Regions from separate parts of the Homo sapiens genome. Here regions 1, 2, 3, 4 and 6 are each linked to region 5. Evidence: promoter capture Hi-C in 16 types of primary human blood cells and fetal thymus (Javierre and others, 2016). All regions are on one chromosome and are shown on one strand. The core of a region is centred on a gene start or on the middle of the fragment in contact, and the rest is flanking DNA. Distances in the headings are between cores, read along the strand shown. Region 1 overlaps PACC1 (proton activated chloride channel 1). Region 2 overlaps PPP2R5A (protein phosphatase 2 regulatory subunit B'alpha). Region 3 overlaps PPP2R5A (protein phosphatase 2 regulatory subunit B'alpha). Region 4 has its middle 2.1 kb from the start of LINC02771. Region 5 holds the start of NEK2 (NIMA related kinase 2). Region 6 holds the start of LOC105372906 (a long non-coding RNA gene).

Region 1 (3,208 bases), core at 552-3,051, 710 kb before region 5:
TACCTTGTCCCTGTGCCCTGGGTCACATGGTGTTTTGTTGTTGTCAGGCCTGGACAGCGAGTCCGCCTCCAGCAGCATCCGCTTCAGCAAGGCCTGCCTGAAGAACGTCTTCTCGGTCCTACTCATCTTCATCTACCTGCTGCTCATGGCTGTGGCCGTCTTCCTGGTCTACCGGACCATCACAGACTTTCGTGAGAAACTCAAGCACCCTGTCATGTCTGTGTCTTACAAGGAAGTGGATCGCTATGATGCCCCAGGTAGAGCCTGCCCCTGGGCCAGGCATCAGGGCCCCAGATCTAGGGTGTCAGCTGGCAGATACTCCCTGAGCTGCCGTTGTATTTGTGGTACTACGGGCAGGGCAGAGGAGTCCAACCAAGCATAGTCTAGGTATAGAGTCTATGCCCAAGGAGCTGCTGTTGGGAGTGTGTTACGTGCTGAGGACAGAAATGGACAGAGCCTGGAGCAGCTACTGCAGGCTACTAGAGGGGTCAGGGAAAGCTTGGCAGAGAGGTAGGATTTGAGATGGGCCTCGAAAAGCACATAGATGGGAAGAGAGTGTCTTTGGGATGGGGATCAGCAGAGCGAAGGGGTGTCTAGGGAGGCAGAGGGCTTCTCTGGAGAGGATGAGACTAACTTGGCTGGGGCCAGAGGGCAGGGATGAGGAGAAGCAGGAGTCAAGGCTGGACTGTGGGGTGGGGAGGATGGCAGGGGAGGCGAGGCCATTCAACCCTGCCTGGAGAGGGACTCCCAGGCCACACTGGGTATACCTGTCTCACTGGGGTGTCTGGTCCCTGAGTGGGGAGTCCACTCTGCTATAGAGCAAGCTATCTGCTCTGGGCTGCAGGGCTGGCACTGGATGTTCTAGGGGCTGTAGAGTAAATGAGGAGGCATGAGCTGTGTGACTTGGGCCCTGTCCACCCAGTGTGTGCCACCTGTTCTGCCCACAGATGCCCCTGAGTAACCTGTGGGAGGGCCTGCTCACATGGCAGAGCCAGAGTCCGGGTGCCCTCTCTCTGGGGCTTCCTGCCAGCCTCCAGCAGAGTCAGGTGTGCTGGTCATGGCTCCTCTGCCCATCTCTTCCTGTCTTGTGTTTGTCCCTCTTCTCTGTGTGTCTGCTTGAGTCTTCTTTATCTGTACGTTTTACTTTCTCTGTCTGGTGTCTTAGTGTCTCTGAAGTCTGTCTGTCTCTGATGCCATGTGCTGCTGTCTTAGCATTGCTGCCCTTGAGGCTGGACAGCTACTGTCAGTAGAGGTGCCTGGGCTGGGAAGAGGGAGGGACTCTTGGGATGTGACTTGCACACTTGGGGCTCCCAGTCTAAGAGACAAAATGAGTTCTGAGGAGTTCCACAGTTTAGAGCCTCCCAGTGATTCTGCAGGTGGGTGTTGGCCCAGAGGGGTGGCACAGGGGCTGAGTCAAGAGACACTCCTTCGGAGGGTGTGGAGCGGGGCTCTGAGGTGGAGTGGGTTTTGATGTGGGCATCAGGGCGGCTGGATCCCAGGTTGGCCAGGGGCTTACTGAGGAGGGGCTTGTGCCCTCTGCTACAGCGGGGCTTTCTGAGGCCAGGGGATGTGGCTCCTCACCCTCTGAAACCCTTTTCTTCTCCCTTCCCTGCAGTCCTCCAGGGAGTCCAGAACGTAGGTTGTTGGTAGGTGTGAGATGATTTCAGGGATGTGGTCAGGAGTGTGATTTCTGACACTTGCTTTTCCTGTTTGTGCCCCCAGGTATTGCCTTGTACCCCGGTCAGGCCCAGTTGCTCAGCTGTAAGCACCATTACGAGGTCATTCCTCCTCTGACAAGCCCTGGCCAGCCGGGTGACATGAATTGCACCACCCAGAGGATCAACTACACGGACCCCTTCTCCAATCAGACTGTGGTAATTCCTGTCTGCCTGAGCTGGGTCTGGGCAGCTGCTCTGTTAGCCCCGCAACCCAAGGCCCCAAGTTTCCTTTTTCCTAGGAGTCCTTCTTCCACTCACTCAGTGTGGGGCCTTAGTCCCCAAGGAGACATGCGGCTGTGCCATGTGGACACTTGGCTGTGGTTGGCTCACTTGCATTCAGGGAGGACAGTGAGGCCTCCAGCCTTTGCTGAGTAATGCTCAGGGATTCCTGACAGTGCGGTGAGACCCTGTCCCCAATGGAAGAATGGCAGGGCTAAAGGGTGGGGCTGGTGCGATATAGCGAAGTGGGTCCCATACCTGACCACTTGACAGAATTGCCAGGATACTTTTTGAAAATATGAATTTCTAGGTTCCATGTGAAGCCAACTGAATTATAATTCCTTAGGTGGGGCCTGAGAATCCATAGTTTGAAATTAATACGCCAGCGTAAAGGAGCGTCGGTCTGGGGACAAGGACTCCTGGGCCCTGGGCTGGCCATGCTGTCGTGCACAACACAGCACGGCTGGGAAGGATGACTGAGGGATGGGGTTAGGAGCGCCCTGGAGGAGTGGCACTGCACAGGGTTTCAAAGACAGGGTAGGCGTTTTGTATTGATTTACATCTCATCTTTTTCATTTCATATTCTTGCTTCAGAAAGCATTGAAAGGGGCTACAATAGTTTTCCAGATGAAATTGGGAAGGAAAGGTTTTCTAGGCAGAGGAAATTGCACCATGACCTAAAGGGAAGAGACGACATGTTGTACTTGTGCCTCTGGGCACAATTGCAGTTGGTGGGGAAATGTTTCATAGGGTCAGGAGCCCTGGAAGACTGATGGGTGATGAAGCTGTGGACAGAGTAATGGCCAGATGAGAAAAGAACATGCATCGTGCTGTAGAGCCACACTTGCTCCCTTGGGTAACAGGGAACTGTTAGTGGGTTTTAAGATGAAAGAATAACACTAATTTTTTTTTTGTTAGTATGTGAACGCTAGGCCCCCTCCTAAAATCCTGCTAAAATGATTCTCTAAGGAATGAGATAGAACAGACTAGAACATCAATAATAGCTTTGCACGTGAAGAAAGGATATCACCAGTGGACCAGACATTTTGAGGAACTGGTATAAAGCATAAAAAACAGCTTGGGCCAGATTGGTGGAGCAAACAAATTAGAGCAAATCCCTAACCCAAAACAGATGAAGGAGAGACCTGTTGTAGAGGTACAAGCTTTCCTTCCAAACCCCCAGCTTGGAATCAGCACCGTTAGAGAGCAGGGTAGTCATTACTGGACTGCCTGTTGGCTGGGCCAGACACACCCTATACCCTCCCCAGGTA
Region 2 (3,619 bases), core at 458-2,957, 650 kb before region 5:
CTCATAATATACAAAACTATGCCTCTATTCAAAACCAGTACATACTTTATATAAAGATACAGGCAGAAATCTTCATAAAGATGATAACCTAATCAAGAATGCCTATGCTTCGTAATTACTCCAGGGCAGGAAGCTAGTAAAATTACCTTTCAATTATATTCAAGTTGCTGTCCTTAAAAAAGCTGATTTAGATAAGGTACTGCTGAACCGTAGTAGGTCAGGTATTCTAAGCATGCTCACACAAAGTCACAAGACATAAGGCACATTCTTTTCATTGATCAATTATTATTAAATAATTTTACAATAAAACAAATGTGGATATATTACAAAGAACAGCAAAAGTCACATGATTTTTGAAGTAAAAATATGAAGACTTGAATTTGCTGCAGTTCATTTGTGGCTATGCCAGTAAAATAAGATAGCTCCACACTTACAAAGAACTTGTATTAACATTTCCTGTTCCAGAATCAATAATGACTCTCTGCTTTATGAAGGTTAAAGTCTATAAGCCTAAGATTGGCATTCAGAATCCATGTAATATTGACATATATGACATTTTTTACTACCAATTTGGTAAAGTTTTTGATTCAGGGTCACTTTTTTTTTGAGACGGAGTCTCACTCTACTGCCCAGGCTAGAGTGTGGTGGCGCGATCTTGGCTCACTGCAACCCCTGCCTCCCAGGTTCATGCAATTTTCCTGCCTCAGCCTCCCAAGTAGCTGGGATTACAGGCCTGCACCACCACGCCCAGCTAATTTTTGTATTTTTTTTAATAGAGATGAAGTTTCACCATGTTGGCCAGCCTGGCCTCAAACTCCTGACCTCAAATGATCCGCCTGCCTCGGCCTCCCAAAGTGCTGGGATTACAGGTGTGAGCCACCTCACCCTGATTCAGGATCACCTTTTATGGAACTGTTCTTAAGTGGGAATATTTTTATGTATCCTTAAAAAAAAAAAAAACATTGAATTTGCAACTATTTTTAATACTAAGTAATATGCTAAACAGTTATCTTTATCCCAGAATTAAAATTCATTCTATTGGGGGTGAAAATGAACCACTAGCCAACATACATGCTACACATAACCAGCAGTCTTATGTTTACTACCTTTTTTTAATCCCAAAATGGCCATTAGTCATTCTAAGCAGAATCTGCTTCTTCTCTGTAAAATCAGTTGTATCTTGAATGGCCCTTTTCTTAAATCTTCTGGGGCTTTTTACCCTTAAAGTTAAAATGGTTATGTGCATTTAATTTTCATTAATAAATGATGTCTGCTAATAATTTATTTCAACTAACAAAAAGATGTCTGCTTGATATTGGTACTTAGTTTGAAAATTAGAAGATGGACACCTCTGCTTATGTATGTACTACACACTAAACGAGATACATGTTGACTATGTGGGCTATAAGAATCCTTCTCAATCCATAGTGTACAGGAAATCCCCATAGTTCTCTCAGTTATTCAGTAATATCTTTATACAGTTATCTATTTTCAAAGATATCTATATCCCTAATATATGGCTTTATTTTATAATATATATCTTTATAATTAATATAAATTCCATAATGATGACTTGGTGAAACAGTTGCCATATCTTGAGAGGCTGCGTTCTAAAAGAGTTTTAAGATATATTTTAGCCCTTTTTCCCTAACGCTAATAGTAATACAAACTCACACAAGATCCCACTTCAATTATGTGATCACCTTATACCGCCAGTCCTATTCTCTCCTTCCTCCCACTACCACCTCCTCAATGTGAATGAAACCAGCCCTCTTATTCTCTGAAGGCCGTGTCTTTGTTCAAAGTCTTTTCCCTACCTGAAATACTTCACTAGATTTCCTCCCCTATCTTTCCATATCCTACTTGCCCTTTAAGAACAAACTTAATCTCACATTCTCCACAAAATTTCCCTTAGGTAGGTCAGGATACAATGATCTCTCCCATCTCTCATGATCTATAGTGTTCACAACTTCAATTACGTATTTGAGTACCCATTATCTTTAGGCCTATATTCAACAGATGTTTCTTTCATCAACCACCAAAAGATTTCAGGCTCCTCAAGGGGAAGGATTATTCACTGAGCAGGGTTTCCTTTTTATTTCTTTTTTATCTAGGGTAGGGTATATAAGGAGTTAATAAATATTTATTTGATGCTTGAAAAAACTCTGAATTTGAAGAATAAGATACTGCACTGAAATACAGTCTACTGAACAAGGAGAAGTTCAAAATTGGTGCTGGATATCAACAGCGACATAAATAATGAATTATTACAACATGGCTATGTTTAAGAATTAATCATGCCAGGTGCGGTGGCTCATGCTTGTAATCCCAGCACTTTGGGAGGCCGAGGTGGGTGGATCACAAGGTAAGAAGATCAAGACCATCCTAGCTAACATGGTGAAACCCTGTCTCTACTAAAAGTAACAAAAAATTAGCCGGGCATGGTGGCAGGCACCTGTAGTCCCAGCTACTCAGGAGGCTGAGGCAGAAGAATGGCGTGAACCCGGGAGGCAGAGCTTGCAGTGAGCCCAGATTGTGCCACTGCACTCCAGCCTGGGGGACAGAGCAAGAAGACTCTGTCTCAAAAAAAAAAAAAAAATTAATCATAATGACCATTTTTATCAACAATCTACCTTGATGGTAGAATTAAATGGATTGAGATAACAATCATGAAGATGAGTGCATATATTTCAAGGTGAAATACAAATGGAAAGTATGTTTTTCTAACACTACAGGCTAAGTAGCCTGTGGCCAGCAAAAAAGAAGACACAAAATGACTTTCAGGATTGGAAAATACAGTCATGCGCCACATAACAAAGTTTTGTCAACAACAGACTGCTTATGTGATGGTGGTCCCATATAAACCTATTTTTACTGTACCTTTTCTTGTTTAGACACACATACACTTCCTTTTGCAAACTGCCTACAGTATTCAGAACAGTAACATGCTGTACAGGTTTGTACACAGCCTAGATGTGTAGTAAACTATACCATTTAAGTTTGTGGAAGTATACTCTATGATGTTCGCACAATGACAAATTTGTCTAATGATGAATTTCTCATTACATAGCCCCATCGTTAAGCATAATCGTAGTAGGTTTAAGAACATGTTACACATTTTTTTTTTTTTTGAGATGGAGTCTTGTTCTGTCGCCCAGGCTGGAGTGCAGTGGTACAATCTCTGCTCACTGCAAACTCCGCCTCCCAGGTTCAAGAGATTCTCCTGCCTCAGCCTCCCAAGTAGCTGGGATTACAGGCACTCACCACCACACCCGGCTAATTTTTCTATTTTTAGTAGAGACGGGGTTTCACCATGTTGGTCAGGCTGGTCTCGATCTCCTGACCTCGTGATCCACCCACCTCGGCCTCCCAAAGTGCTGGGATTACAGGCGTGAGCCACCGTGCCCAGCCCCATGTTACACATTTTTTAAAAAAGACTTTCTCTGGGCACCTAACTCCTGGGTCTCCTCTAGAAAGAAATTAATGTTTTTCATAGCTTATCCATTCAGTAATCCATTTCTTAGCCTAAAAGATGCATTTAAATTTGTTTTTGTTTTTTCTCCCCCAGAACTATATCCCAGCATTACATAATGCTTGGGTGGGATAGGTCACATCTGAA
Region 3 (3,190 bases), core at 678-3,177, 680 kb before region 5:
AAGGACAGGTTGTGAGGACTGGAAAGGCCCTGCCTTCAGCCTTTGAGAGGAAGAGGAGGAATGAATTGAGAGGCAAGCTGGGTAATTCACCTGAGCTGCCTCTACCCATCTGTTACCACTCTGGAGAATTGCAGAGGAAGGGGGATATTCATGAGGAACAATCTGAAGAATTTTGGTTTACTTTCCCAGCTTTTATTTATATTTTGTGCTTTAAAAAGCCTGGAGATTTAAGGTTTTGCCTAAATTCCAGAGTACAGTAATGTATTTATTGAGGGAGGGGTTAGGGCAGGTAATTCCCCCCATCATATTTCTGGGTGAGACAAAGAGAAGGGTAAGGATGATACCTTAGTTTTATTTTAGGAAGTATTTTTTCCTAGGATGTAACTAAGGTTTGCAGCAGTGTGAAAAGCACATTATAAAAGGGAAAAATATACAGAGCAGACTACCATATCTATGTGCAACACAATCAAAGAAGAATTCAAGTCATAATTCTTACCACTCCCATAATTATCTCACTCATATCATAGATGATAAAATTCATTCATTTCTGTGAAACTTCAGAAGTGACACAATAAATCCAATGATTAGACAAAGGTTACAATATACTATGGCCATGATACAGCACAGGGCTACGTTTAGTCCATATATTTTTCCATTTACAGTTGCCAGAAAAAATTGGCCTTTTAATTATATTATACTGATGAGGTTTGTTTTGTAATTTTTACATATTTCAAAAAAGCATACAAAACTCTGCCTATCCGGCAGAGGTGGGAGGCTTTTTTTTTATTCGGCACTTGTATTGCTGAGAATACTGTGCATGTTGTAAGCACTATTCTGTTTTTCTAGAGCTTTCTTTAGCTTTAGCTCCTCTAATTTTTTCCATAATTCTTCACGTTCCAATTCCTTCTTTTTCTCTCTGTAGATAAACCAAAATTTTTGTAATCAGAAATTATTTCAGAACCCAAAGAGAGGTGCTGTTTGACAGCTTACTGGAGAACACATTACTTACCCACATTTCACTTAAATCCCTCTGCTAAAGCTTTGGAGTCCACTTACCTGGAGCACCTAATTTCTTCTTGTCACTCTCCTAAATGTACTGAGTCTGTGCATCTCCTGTACCAGCTAGACGTTACTACTTGCTTTCTGTCCCCTACACATTATCACTACCATGACACTGTACTTTATAGTCAACAAAGTACTTACACGTCAATTTTCTCACGTAAACATCTTGCAGTTGTAGTAGTCTAATCAGTATTACAAAGGCTGAAGGGGCTGGCCACTAGGTCAGTAGGAAGCACTTCCTTCACCACACCAGACAGAAGCCACATCATTTTTGCCACTAACAGCCACATCTCTAGCCACTAACCAGTTTGTATCTTACTAGCTCCTCTTTTACATGTCAAATGAAAACTTTAGTTTCAGTAATCTTTCTCTAGAACAAAATGAAGGTCAAAATATTTCATATGTCGTTTCAACTAATTAATTTCAGTTCTAAGGAAAACATTTCTGAGTAACTTGAACCTGTCTATTCTGAAAGGCTCCATGAACATGTAAAACATAGGCTTATAATTCTGCAGTTATGAGTTAAAAGGACAAATCCTTTTAAAGGATTTGCTGATTTATGCAGGTAAGAAATGATGAGTATATTCTTAGTCATGTGAAATACATATTTTTCAAATACAAGTTTCCTATGATCCTAGTCATCTTATTTTCTTCCCATTGCTTCCTGAGGCTCAAAACATGTACTTAATTTCTATTCCTGCCTGAATGCTGCTATTTAAAGGAAATAATGCATTGAGTTAGTTATTAATGGGCTGGATGGCTTTGAAGAAAGGCTATCCATTTTCTACTTTAAGATAACCATAACTAGGAACTTGTCAAAATAGATAGCTTTTCTAAACAGAACAGGTAATATGCTTATTAGAAGTAAATGGTAACTGTTATCCTCAAATAATGGGTGGGCTCAGGTACACTGGTTACTAACCACTTAAGTTTAAGAAAGTGCTTCTTGAGTTTGAAATAAACATATGAGAAGAAAGTAACTCTTGAAAGATTATTTTATAGTAATTTATGAAATTCTCAAAAAGAGGTAATCACTAGGCCATGTTCCTAAAGGCTGATACGTGCTAACATTTATACTCTAAAATACATATTATTGCAAGGACAACATATTAATAGTACCCTAAGCCATATCATTATGTGACTTCCCTCTTCCCAAAGGAGAACTATGCTGACTTTAAAATACCACCTTCTGATAATCCACAGCGTAAGAATTACCTACTGCTAACAAAGAACACTTGAAAAGTAAAGCTCACTCTGGAAGCCCACGTGGACAAAAAGGATTTTCGTAAATGCATGGATAAAAAATCAAATTGTACAAATTGATATTTAAAATTCAGCATAAATTATATTTCATATGCAGATGCTAACAGACTGAGGAAATCTAAGGCTCAGAATGAGATAAACAGGATTTATGATCCACATTAAAATCATAATCTAACCATTTAGAGGAAGTAAATTATGTAACTACCCTCAAAAATAAATGCTACTGCTTTTTCTGCTTTAACAAATTTATAAAAATACTGGGGCTAGTTTATCTGGAAATGACTTATATGTTAAGAGACTTTCACATTGTAATGTTTACTATAAGGTAATTAACTTCTTAAATATGAAAATCTGAACTGAGAGAAGATACCTTCCTGAACTGAATCACATTCAACTAACATAAAATGTATAGATAATTTTGTAATTCAAAATATCAAATACCTCTGTCTTTCAGCTTTGTATGAGCTAGTAAGGTCATCGAAAAGCTTGCCATTCATTTCCATTAGGGTTTTCAGCACATTGTATACCAGTGCTACAATGGTCCTGAAATGAAAATGAGCCAGTCCTGAGTTATGATACTGCTAACAGAGAGGAAATGTAACACTATGGTCTCTAAAATGGGTTAAAGCTTGGCTGATTTCATTTAATCCATTTTAGAGATGATAAAACTGAGGCTCAAGAGGTTTGTAATATGCTCAAGGTCATACAGCAAGTGGTGGTAGAGACAGTCTAAGAAAACTTAAATCTTTTCCATTTTATCATGCTTACATTAAACTCTAGTTAAAAATGTTCACTATAGTTATCTTCATTTCTGCTTTACAGTCTCATGTCTGAAATCCTGAGTAACAACATTAAAAGAAGATGA
Region 4 (3,260 bases), core at 28-2,527, 800 kb before region 5:
CACAGCAAAAGAAACTACCATCTGAGTGAACAGGCAACCTACAGAATGGGAGAAAATTTTTGCAATCTACCCATCTGACAATGGGCTAATATCCAGAATCTACAAAGAACTTAAACAAATTTATGAGAAAAAAAAAACCCCATCAAAAAGTGGGCAAAGGATATGGAACAGATACGTCTCAAAAGAAGACATTTATGTGGCCAACACGCAGGAAAAAATGCTCATCATCACTGGTCATTAGAGAAATGCAAATCAAAACCACAATGAGATACCATCTCACGCCAGTTAGTATGGCGATCATTAAAAAGTCAGGAAACAACAGATGAGATGCTGGAGAGGATGTGGAGAAATAGGAATGCTTTTACACTGTTGGTGTAAATCAGTTCAACCATTGTGGAAGACAGTGTGGCAATTCCTCAAGGATCTAGAACTTGAAAGACCATTTGACCCAGCAATCTCATTACTGGGTATATACCCAAAGGATTATAAATCATGCTACTATAAAGACACATGCACACGTATGTTTATTGTGGCACTATTCACAATAGCAAAGACTTGGAGCCAACCCAAATGTCCATCAATGATAGACTGGTTAAAGAAAATGTGGCACATATACACCATGGAATACTATGCAGCCATGAAAAAGAATGAGTTCATGTCCTTTGCAGGGACATGGATGAAGCTGGAAACCATCATTCTCAGCAAACTATCACAAGGACAGAAAACCAAACACCGCATGTTCTCACTCATAGGTGGGAACTCAACAATGAGAACACTTGGACACAGGGCGGGGGAACATCACACACCAGGGCCTGTCAGGGGGTTGGGGGCTGGGGGAGGGATAGCATTAGGAGATATACCGAATGTAAATGACAAGTTGATGGGTGCAGCAAACCAATATGGTACATGTATACCTATGTAGCAAACCTGCACGTTGTGCACATGTACCTTAGAACTTAAAGTATAATAAAAAATAAATAAATAAAAAAGAAGAAGAGTGGGTTTGAGAGATGGCCTGAGGCTTTGCCTAGAAGGGAGTTTGGAATGCATCATAGACCATTGAAAGCCTTCCAAGGGTTTAAGCAGGGGCATAATATAGGGATTCCTCCTAGAAAGAAACATTCTCAAATTTGCACTTTAGAAAGATCATTTTAGCAAGAGTGTGGAGTATGGAATAGAGAGTCTAGTAGCTGAGGCCCTGCCCTCAGCTAAGCAATGTCAGTGGGGACAGAGAAAAGAGAACCCATTCATCCTTTATTCATTCATCTAAGACATATGCCAGGCTTGCTGGAATTGCAAAGCTGCGCCCAGAAACCCACATTCTCCCCTTTCTGCACAATGTGGAAGAAAGCCACGGACCTGCCCACATACTTGGAGCCCCAAAATCTTGACCGTCGCTGGCAAGAGTTGGAGCCTGATTTGTGTGGGCAGTTCAGCTGCTTTATTTTTTTAGCATTGATAACTGGCATACTGATTAGGTAACAACTCTTAAGAATTGAATAGTACTACATCGCCATTTTATAGGAATAAGGAAATTGAGGCATAGCAAGGCAGGTTCCACCCAAGGCCAGCTGGCTCCTGAGTCTATCCTCTTAACCATTCGCTATTCCTTCCTCTTTGTGCTGATCACACAGCAATGCTCAGGATGCTCAGAACAGCTTTGGGGAGTGTTTTGCCTCTAATGTCCTCATCTTGTTCTCTAGCCTCATTCAACCTGTTTCCTGTTCCCTGGAAGTCATTTTATGGCTAAATAAATCCCAACGAAATGTTAACTCTGAAGACAGGCACCTCCTGCCTTCTCCCCTGGACCCCCTTTCTGCTTGGAGTCCTGGTGTTTGCCATAGTGTCTGTATTTTCAGAAGGTTAATGGGTGCAGGATCCCACATTAGGACTTACAGGGAGGGCTCAGCCTCTGACCTCAGAAAATTCAGGTCCCAGGGGGAGTCAAGACAGATGAACTATTCAGTCTGTTCGTTATTCTAGCTATCAGCATCTTCAGCTAACCTGGTGTTTTTTAATGTAGTTTGAGAGTCTCTAAATTGATTTCATGACCCACTAACTAGCATCTCAAATCACATTTTATTTAAATGAAATTGAATGAAATACAAAACATGAAGTGTATTGCATATAGTACAATTAATAATTGTTTCAAGAAAATTTCTGTTTTAGTTGTGTGTATCTGAGTGTATATGTGTGTGTGTGTGTGTGTACACACTTGATTACAATATAAAATACATTTCTTACTGTGAGTCCAGTCAAAAAGTTAAAGCACCACATATCTTAATATTTTCTCCCTCTGGCTTCACAATAATTGTTTGCAGCAGTTTTACAACCTATGGTTTGTTCAAGGAAATACGAAAAAAGAGTTTTGATCCGCGGACCTGTGAAGGAGCAGAGGAGCCAGGCTGAGCCAGCACATGAGGGAAGCCCTTGGATCCAGACACTGCAGCAGAGCTAGGGCTGGCCAAAGGGCTGCATGGACAATAACTGGCTCACACTGAGGGCCCCGCTCCTCACCTGCCTATCTTAAGCCACCTGTTCTCTCTCTCTCTCTCTCTCTCTCTCTTTTTCTTTAAATACAGATGGCGTCTCGCTATGTTGCCCAGGTTGGTCTCAAAACTCCTGACCTCAAGCGATCCTCTCACCTCAGCCAACCAAAGTGCTGGGATTACAGGCATGAGTCACTGCACCTGGCCCAGTCACCTGTTCATGAAAACCCCAAGGCTCGCTGCTACCCAACCCGAGGTCAAGACTGGCCAGAAGGTGTGCAGATACCCTCTCGCCTATTCAGCTGTTGCCTACTGAAGCCTGATCTGCAGCTCCCACTGCACCGCTCAGGCAGCCAAATGGGGAGGAAAAACCACAGAGTGGTCGTAAGCTGTTCTTCCGCAGGCTCTTAAGCATTGGTCTCTAACCAACAAGGCCTGGCATATGTATTGAATTTATTTATTTATCATTATTATTGTTATTTTAGAGCTGGAGGTCTTGCTTTGTTGCCTAGGCTGGTCTTGAACCTTCTCACCCATTGCTTGGACCAGCTGGCAGCCCACGGGTATACCCCAAGCAATCCTCCTGCCTCGGCCTGCCAAAGTGCTGGGATTACAAGCATGAGCCACCATGCCTGGCCTTGAATGTACTGAACTTATTCTTCCGTGTATCCCAGGCACAGACCCACTTTCTGTGAATGGGAGAGTGGTCTGGCCATGGCTCACTGGCCTGTGGGTTAGCAGGACTGATTTGGCTGCTTCTCAGAGGCCCCT
Region 5 (3,699 bases), core at 681-3,180:
GGCTGATCTTGAACTCCTGACCTCGTAATCCACCCGCCTTGACCTCCCAACGTGCTGGGATTACAGGTGTGAGCCACCGTGCCCGGCCAGGGCTCTGTCTTATACAGTTTCATGTTGCTATAATAGGATGCCACAGACTGGACAATTTATAAACAATAGTTTATTTGGCTCACGGTTCTGGAAGCTAGGAAGTCCAAGATCAAGGGGTAGCATCTGGCAGCAGCCTTTTCTCTGGGTCATAAAATAGCAGAAGGCATCACATGGTAAGAGAAACAGCAAGGGAAAGCCAAACTCATTTTTATAACCAACCGACTCTCAAGATAACCCACTCCTGTGATTACGTTAATCCATTCGTGAGGGGTAGCCCTCATAACCCAATCAATTTAAAGGTCTCACCTCTTAACACTTTTGCATTAAGAATAGTTTCCAACACATGAACTTTGGGGGATACATTCAAACCACAGCAAGCTCTATGGATACCAATCTGTAAGAGGCACAAAAATAAAAAAATGATGCTAATTAACACAGCCACTTGCAGTGCCTTACATAACTTTTGAAACCTAAATTGGTCCTATTCCCCTGAGGTAAGACAGTGCCCTTGAATGTTAATTTAAAAATTCTCCTGGTTGGCAATTCCAATTATCTTATGTTATATTCAGGGCATGTAATAAGTCCCTTATTTTTACATAAAGAGCTTTTAAATTCTTATTAATAGAAAATCAGGTGTCTTTTAATCCTTTGCTGAACAGATATTTAAAGAAAACTGGCCTGTTCATGCATTTCCAAATTATTAGCTTTCTGGTAATTTACATATTCCTCTAACAAGCCCTGGATGGAGGCCTCTAAGTCCTCCTTCCCTGGTAAACATGGGGCTGTTCATTTGGCTGGGTAAGCTGAGAACGTTGGTGTGTGGGTGCGTAAAAGAGAATCTGTGTTCAATGAAGTATTGTCGATAGGGTTAATTGTGTATTTGGCACACATAAACGGGACAAGACGTGTAAAGTACTTGGTAGGAGAGCGACAGTATTTCTCCTTTTTTTTTTTTTTTTGGAGACTGGGTGTCACTCTGTCGCCCAGGCTGGAGTGCAGTGGCGCACGGCTCACTGTAACCTCTGCCTCCCAGGTTCAAGCAATTCCTCATGCCTCAGCCTCCCAAGAAGCTGGGATTACAGGCCTGCAACCCCATGCTCTGTTACTTTTTTTTTTTTTTTTTTCATTTTTAGTAGAGACGGGGTTTCGCCATGTTGGCCAGGCTGGTCTTGAACTCTTGGCCTCGAGCAATCCGCCCGCCTCGGCCTCCCAAAGTGCTAGGATTATAGGCGTGAGCCACAGCGCCCGGCCTAATTTTCGTATTTTCAGTAGAGACGAGGTTTGCCCTGTTGCCCAGGCTGGTCTGAACTCCTGGGCTCAAGCGACCCACCCACCTCGGCTTCCCAAAGTGCTAGGGTTACGGGCGAGCGTGAGTCACCGCGCCCACCCGGGAGTCTGTATTTCTAATTTGTATTCAGCTCTCAGCATATCCTCAACGTGACCCCACCCAGGTTCAGGGTACTGGAACCTGAGCGAGGAATGCGTGTGCCGGGGAGAGTAGGTAGTGTGAGGGGCCAGAGTGCAAAGGTCAGAAGGCATCTGGTGGAAGCGGTGTGCAAAGAAGCCTGAGGGGAGGACCTTAGATCTCGGTTACCTTGGCGATCTCTATCAGAGGGTTAGAGTTGCCGAGAGGCGCCAGCTGCCGCTTCCTCTCTCCCGCCCTCCGTTTGGCTTAGCTCGCCGGGTTCTCCCACAGGTTAAAAGCAGACGCCGACGCGGTTGCCTAGTGACACTTTTCCCAAAATGCCTAGGGTATTGTTGTGTTCTTCTTAGCCAATGAGAGAGGCGAAGCGGCCCACCGCCTGCCAATAGACTGCGAGATCAGGGCCCGCGACGGTTAAACGGGGCCCAAGGCAGGGGTGGCGGGTCAGTGCTGCTCGGGGGCTTCTCCATCCAGGTCCCTGGAGTTCCTGGTCCCTGGAGCTCCGCACTTGGCGGCGCAACCTGCGTGAGGCAGCGCGACTCTGGCGACTGGCCGGCCATGCCTTCCCGGGCTGAGGACTATGAAGTGTTGTACACCATTGGCACAGGCTCCTACGGCCGCTGCCAGAAGATCCGGAGGAAGAGTGATGGCAAGGTGAGCGTGGGACCTACCCTGCGCCTGCCCCTGCTTAGGTTTCGTCGCCTCGGGGCGAGCGCCCTGCGCCACCGAAGGGAACCGACAGGGCTGAGGAAATGGGTGCCCGGAAGACTAAACCGTCTTTCCTGGGTCTGCATCTGACAGCCTGTCCTGGGTGGCTTAAAGGATGGGAGACCGCTTCTTTTGATATATGTATTTCCATCTTTTCCCGTTTCTCTCCCCATTTCTCTCTTTCTCCTGCTTTGGCTTGCTAAGGACCTTCCATTGGTGACAGGTAACTAATTCCTGAGCTGTTTTTAGAGCTCTAAGAGTGGCCCTCTCAGGCACAAGAAAGGGGCAGGACTACCAGAACCCGAAGCTTTGTATCTGCAGTCAGACTCCCTCAAAATATCCATTATTAGGATTATTGGATTCATATTTCCCAATGTATATAGGTAGAACTTTTACAGAAAGTAACATTGGACAGGAAACTGCCTGGCTGCTGATGGAGGGATCTTTACCAAGGTGTCTCATCCTGGGAAAACACGACTGGGGTGGAATGGGGCAGGGACTTTGACCACCTTCACCCCAATTTTGACTATAGTACCTTTTAGCCAACTTCCCACTAACCAACTGAGGGTAGGGGTTGGGGGAGTCCTCATGTGCCTCATTCCCGTTTGTCTCCCCACAACATACATTTACTGCTTAGAACTGGAGGAAGATTATGGAAGTAAACTCACAGCTCCTTAAGTTCATTGAACTAAATTAGATAATGACCTTGATTGTAGGATATAATTAAAAGGGAGGTAATTTGTTAAATCTTGGAACTTTCATTCTTTGTTTTTGAGCATAATGAGTTCATTCATACCTTGGAAATTCTTATTTCAGATATTAGTTTGGAAAGAACTTGACTATGGCTCCATGACAGAAGCTGAGAAACAGATGCTTGTTTCTGAAGTGAATTTGCTTCGTGAACTGAAACATCCAAACATCGTTCGTTACTATGATCGGATTATTGACCGGACCAATACAACACTGTACATTGTAATGGAATATTGTGAAGGAGGGGATCTGGCTAGTGTAATTACAAAGGGAACCAAGGAAAGGTAAGCATAATCTTTTAAAAATGTAAGCTGAAATTGGTCTAGTTTCATTTATTTTAAGCATCTTGTTTTAGGATCAGTAATATGGAAGAGTGTATTTGTATTTGTTTGGTAGGTCCACAGTACTTTAGAAAATTCCTGGTGAATCAACACCCATATTTTATATCAAAATAACAATTTATAGGCTGAGTGTGGTGGCTCACACCTGTAATCCCAACACTTTGGGAGGCCGATGCGGGAGGATCACTTGAGCCCAGGATTTCAAGACCAGCCTGGGCAACATAGTGGGACCCTGTTTCTACAAAAATTAGCCAGGTATAGTGACATGTGCCTGTAGTCCAAGCTACTTGGGAGGCTAAGGCAAGAGGATTGCTTGAGCCTGGGAGGTCGAGGCTGCAGTGAGCCATGATCGTGCCACTGCATTCCAGCCTGGGTGACAGAGTAAGA
Region 6 (3,169 bases), core at 156-2,655, 760 kb before region 5:
GGACCAGGGCCAGCGCTGCCAGCGGCCGCAGCCGCCGCCGCGGCGCGGGGCCCACCATGGTGAGCGCGCAGCGCAAGGCAAGGCCGGGCCAGGGCGGCGGGGCCCTAGCACGCCCGCCCAGCGTCCCGGAGTCCCGCCCCGCGCCCAGAGCCTCCCCGAGGGCGGGGACCCGAGAACTCCCGCCCTTCGCGCGCCTCCTGCGCCCCGGGGTGGGGCTGGCCGGGCTACTCGGGCCACGCAGCTGGAACCTGGAAATTAGGATTGGAATCCTGAACTCCTAAATCCAAACTACAGACTGGAAGTTACCAAAAAATGTCACAGTGGTTCCTTGATCAGGTAGAAAGATGACAGAGCCCAACATACCAGAACCTAGAAAGGTATATTTCTAAAATAAGACCCCAACTGTCTTAATTCGCTTTTATTTTTGGCTGATTTTTTTTCTTCCTGGTTGTGTTTAAGTTTCTGGTTCCCAAGGAGATTTTTGCAAAGGGTAGGGTGCTGTTACCGATACGCCCTGAAATAATAATAGCTAACATTTGTGCCAAACTTTGCTCATTACTTTATGCAACAAATATTTTTGAGTACCTCCATGTACCAGGTCACTGGGGACTCACCACTGAACAAGACAGATCCACGCCCACGTGAAGCTTACATTGTGTGGGCAGATAGACAATAAGATGCTAAGTAGTATGTTAGATGGTGGTAAATACTAGGGAGAAAAAGTAGGGCAAAGAGATAGGGAGCACTGGGATGGACATTTTATTTTATTTTATTGTTATGTATTTATTTATTTTTGAGACGGAGTCTGTCGCCTACGCTGGAGTGCAGTGGCGCCATCTCGGCCCACTGCAACCTCCACCTTCCGGGTTCAAGTGATTCTCCTGCCTCAGCCACCAGAGTAGTTGGGATTACAGGCACCCACCACCACGCCTGGCTAATTTTTTTTTTTTTTAATTTTTAGTCGAGATGAGGTTTCACTATATGCTGGCCAGGCTGGTCTCGAACTCCTGGCCTCAAGTGAACCATCCACCTCATCCACCCAAAGTGCTGGGATTACAGGTGTGAGGAACGGTGCCCGGTTATGGGGATGGTCATTTTAAATAGGCAGGTTAGGGAAGGCCTCACTGAGAACAGGGTATTTGCATAAAAATCTACAGGAGGCGAAGGAGGCGGTCTAGAGGGAAGAGCACTTTGGTCAAAGGATCAGGTGCATAAATGCGGAGGAATGAGGATGCCCGGCTTGCTGGAGGATCAAGGGAAGGTAAGAGGGGTAGGTGAAGTCAGGAAGGAAGCGGGTAAGGGAGTGGGGGTGGATCTTGGGGGCTTCACAGGTTATTTTCAAGACTGGCTTTTACTTTCAAGACTGGAATAGAGGAATTAACAGAAAAAGGGTCTCATTCCAGACCCAAGAGCAGGTTCTTAGACGTCCACGGCAAAGAATCAGGGCAAGTCGCAGAGCATAGTAGTTAAAATAGTTCATTAGAAACTACTCCATTTCTAATAATAGTACTACTGTGTTTCTGAGTAGTATCCTTGCTTTGAAGTAGTACTAAGCAAGTATTGTTTATATAGGAGCACCTCTGCCTTCAATGTAATGCTTGCTTTTATAGGGCTAAAACTAGCGTACTTCATTACAAAAGCCTATGATCAGCTTGTTACAGACTATTAGTATTGTTATTCTCTTGTGTAACTATTGACTTCAGGGAGAATTTATGGGTGTACTGTTATCTTTAAAGTGAAACTCATTTTTAAACTAAGAATGCCTTTTTCCATTATCTCATTTCCTCAACCATAAACATCTTGTGAAGAGTGCCTATCTTCCTGGGAAAGTCGCCCAGCAGGTTTGGCTTTATCTGACCTTTATTCAAGATGGAATCACTCTGGTTAGGACACTTCTGACATAATTCCCTCCTCCTTTTTACAAGGAGACCTTTAATCCTAAGGGGTGCAGGGGGACAGAGATCCATCTTCAGTAACTTCAAGCTGAACAGAAGCGATGATATTCCTGCCTAACCATTAGGATCCCTTTGCCCAAAGTAGAGAGCTAGCCAGTCAGAAAGCATCTGTATAGTGAGGACCAATCATACATAATTCTAAGTCCCAGAAAAAGGTGAAATCTAGAAAATTAACGTGTTAAATTTAAAGAAGCATTGAATAAGCTTAACTCTTATTCCTACATAAAAAGTACAATGCAGTATATTCCACAGCACAAAACAGAATGAATAGAATTATCCCAAGCATGCTAAACAAAAAAAGTTTCCCAAGGACTAGGCAGTTGTTAGAACCAAGCTGATATGGGGTCAACTGACAGCGTGTCAATGGCAGAGATGTGGGTGTCTAAGTCTTTTGTGGCCTGAGTAACATTATGTGAATAGTCTGGAATGTATGCATAACATTCTGTTTTGATTATAGCATAAGTTCCCCCTTTGAGCTGCTGTTAACATGTCCAGAGCCATAGTTTCATAAGGCTATCTGTCTAATTTGAGATGTTTCTTCAGTCAAGAGGGTAAGGGCATGGCGTGTATTATTGAAAACTGCAGCTGTGTTTAGCTATGGCTTTGGCTTGAAGCTCAATGTCAATTGTGGCTGCCTGTGGGGAGAAGACAGTGTCAGGCCTCTGAGCTGAAGCTCAGCCATTGTAACCCTTGTGACCTGCACCTATAAGTCCAGATGGCCTGCAGGAGCCAAGAAGTCTGGAGCAGCCAAAAAAACACAAAAGAAGTGCAACAAAAGAAGCTCCTGCCTTGACTGATTGACCAGCCTTACGACGTTCCACCATTATGAATTGTTCCTGTCCTGCCCCAACTGATCAATCGACCTTGTGACATTCTTCTTCTGGACAATGAATCTTATGATCTCCCCACCATGGACCCTGTGACCCCCTCCTCTGCTGACAATAGATAACCACCTCTAACTGTAACATTCCACTGCCTACCTCAGTCCTATAAAGCTGCCCCTCTCCTATCTACCTTCGCTGACTCTCTTTTCGTACTCAGCCCACTTGCACCCAAGTGAATAAACAGCCCTGTTGCTCACACAAAGCCTGTTTAGGTGGTCTTCTATACGGACACATGTGACAGATAGCCAATGGGTAAAACAACCAAGAAGACTGCTTTTGTCACTTATGACGAGCTTTTACAGTTTCCCAGTTAGATGGGAGAGATTATAA

What was found. The method cuts DNA at HindIII sites, captures the fragments that hold promoters and counts their contacts. A CHiCAGO score of 5 or more calls a contact.
Region 1: a fragment that was not itself captured here is called in contact with the fragment with the promoter of NEK2 in region 5 in 1 of 17 cell types (total CD8 T cells); the score reaches 5.1 in total CD8 T cells.
Region 2: a fragment that was not itself captured here is called in contact with the fragment with the promoter of NEK2 in region 5 in 1 of 17 cell types (fetal thymus); the score reaches 5.8 in fetal thymus.
Region 3: a fragment that was not itself captured here is called in contact with the fragment with the promoter of NEK2 in region 5 in 6 of 17 cell types (total CD8 T cells, erythroblasts, naive CD8 T cells and 3 more); the score reaches 6.2 in total CD8 T cells.
Region 4: a contact is called between a fragment that was not itself captured here and the fragment with the promoter of NEK2 in region 5, in 2 of 17 cell types (naive CD4 T cells and non-activated CD4 T cells). The highest score is 6.0, in naive CD4 T cells.
Region 6: a contact is called between a fragment that was not itself captured here and the fragment with the promoter of NEK2 in region 5, in 11 of 17 cell types (non-activated CD4 T cells, fetal thymus, naive CD8 T cells and 8 more). The highest score is 12.9, in non-activated CD4 T cells.

The regions. Positions count from the first base shown.
Region 1 is chr1:212,383,940-212,387,147 of GRCh38, reverse strand. PACC1 (proton activated chloride channel 1) reads left to right here. Exons shown (of 8, transcript NM_018252.3): 3 at 48-257; 4 at 1,723-1,874. Among named protein-coding and RNA genes, the nearest start is that of PACC1, 29 kb to the left of the region's middle. RefSeq lists a silencer at 1,882-2,065. The HindIII fragment of the contact is 2,602 bases long and covers 501-3,102 here.
Region 2 is chr1:212,323,584-212,327,202 of GRCh38, reverse strand. The region is part of intron 1 of PPP2R5A (protein phosphatase 2 regulatory subunit B'alpha); the gene reads right to left. Among named protein-coding and RNA genes, the nearest start is that of SNORA16B, 27 kb to the left of the region's middle. The HindIII fragment of the contact is 5,536 bases long and covers 1-3,619 here.
Region 3 is chr1:212,358,364-212,361,553 of GRCh38, reverse strand. It overlaps PPP2R5A (protein phosphatase 2 regulatory subunit B'alpha), which reads right to left. Exons shown (of 13, transcript NM_006243.4): 12 at 2,767-2,868; 13 at 1-916. The coding sequence ends at 784. Among named protein-coding and RNA genes, the nearest start is that of SNORA16B, 7.1 kb to the right of the region's middle. The HindIII fragment of the contact is 1,771 bases long and covers 1,042-2,812 here.
Region 4 is chr1:212,473,391-212,476,650 of GRCh38, reverse strand. No RefSeq gene overlaps it. Among named protein-coding and RNA genes, the nearest start is that of LINC02771, 2.1 kb to the right of the region's middle. The HindIII fragment of the contact is 9,575 bases long and covers 1-3,260 here.
Region 5 is chr1:211,673,852-211,677,550 of GRCh38, reverse strand. NEK2 (NIMA related kinase 2) reads left to right here and starts at 1,930. Exons shown (of 8, transcript NM_002497.4): 1 at 1,930-2,167; 2 at 3,038-3,255. The coding sequence starts at 2,072. NEK2-DT (NEK2 divergent transcript) reads right to left here and starts at 1,789. Exons shown (of 4, transcript NR_148994.1): 1 at 1,685-1,789; 2 at 397-484. RefSeq lists enhancers at 1,650-1,944, 1,967-2,226. The HindIII fragment of the contact is 3,147 bases long and covers 1-2,530 here.
Region 6 is chr1:212,429,833-212,433,001 of GRCh38, reverse strand. It overlaps LOC105372906 (a long non-coding RNA gene), which reads left to right and starts at 185. Exons shown (of 3, transcript XR_922577.4): 1 at 185-377; 2 at 1,158-1,261; 3 at 2,671-3,041. NENF (neudesin neurotrophic factor) reads right to left here and starts at 82. Exons shown (of 4, transcript NM_013349.5): 1 at 1-82. The coding sequence starts at 58. RefSeq lists a silencer at 1-296 and a cis regulatory region at 1,720-2,007. The HindIII fragment of the contact is 1,512 bases long and covers 650-2,161 here.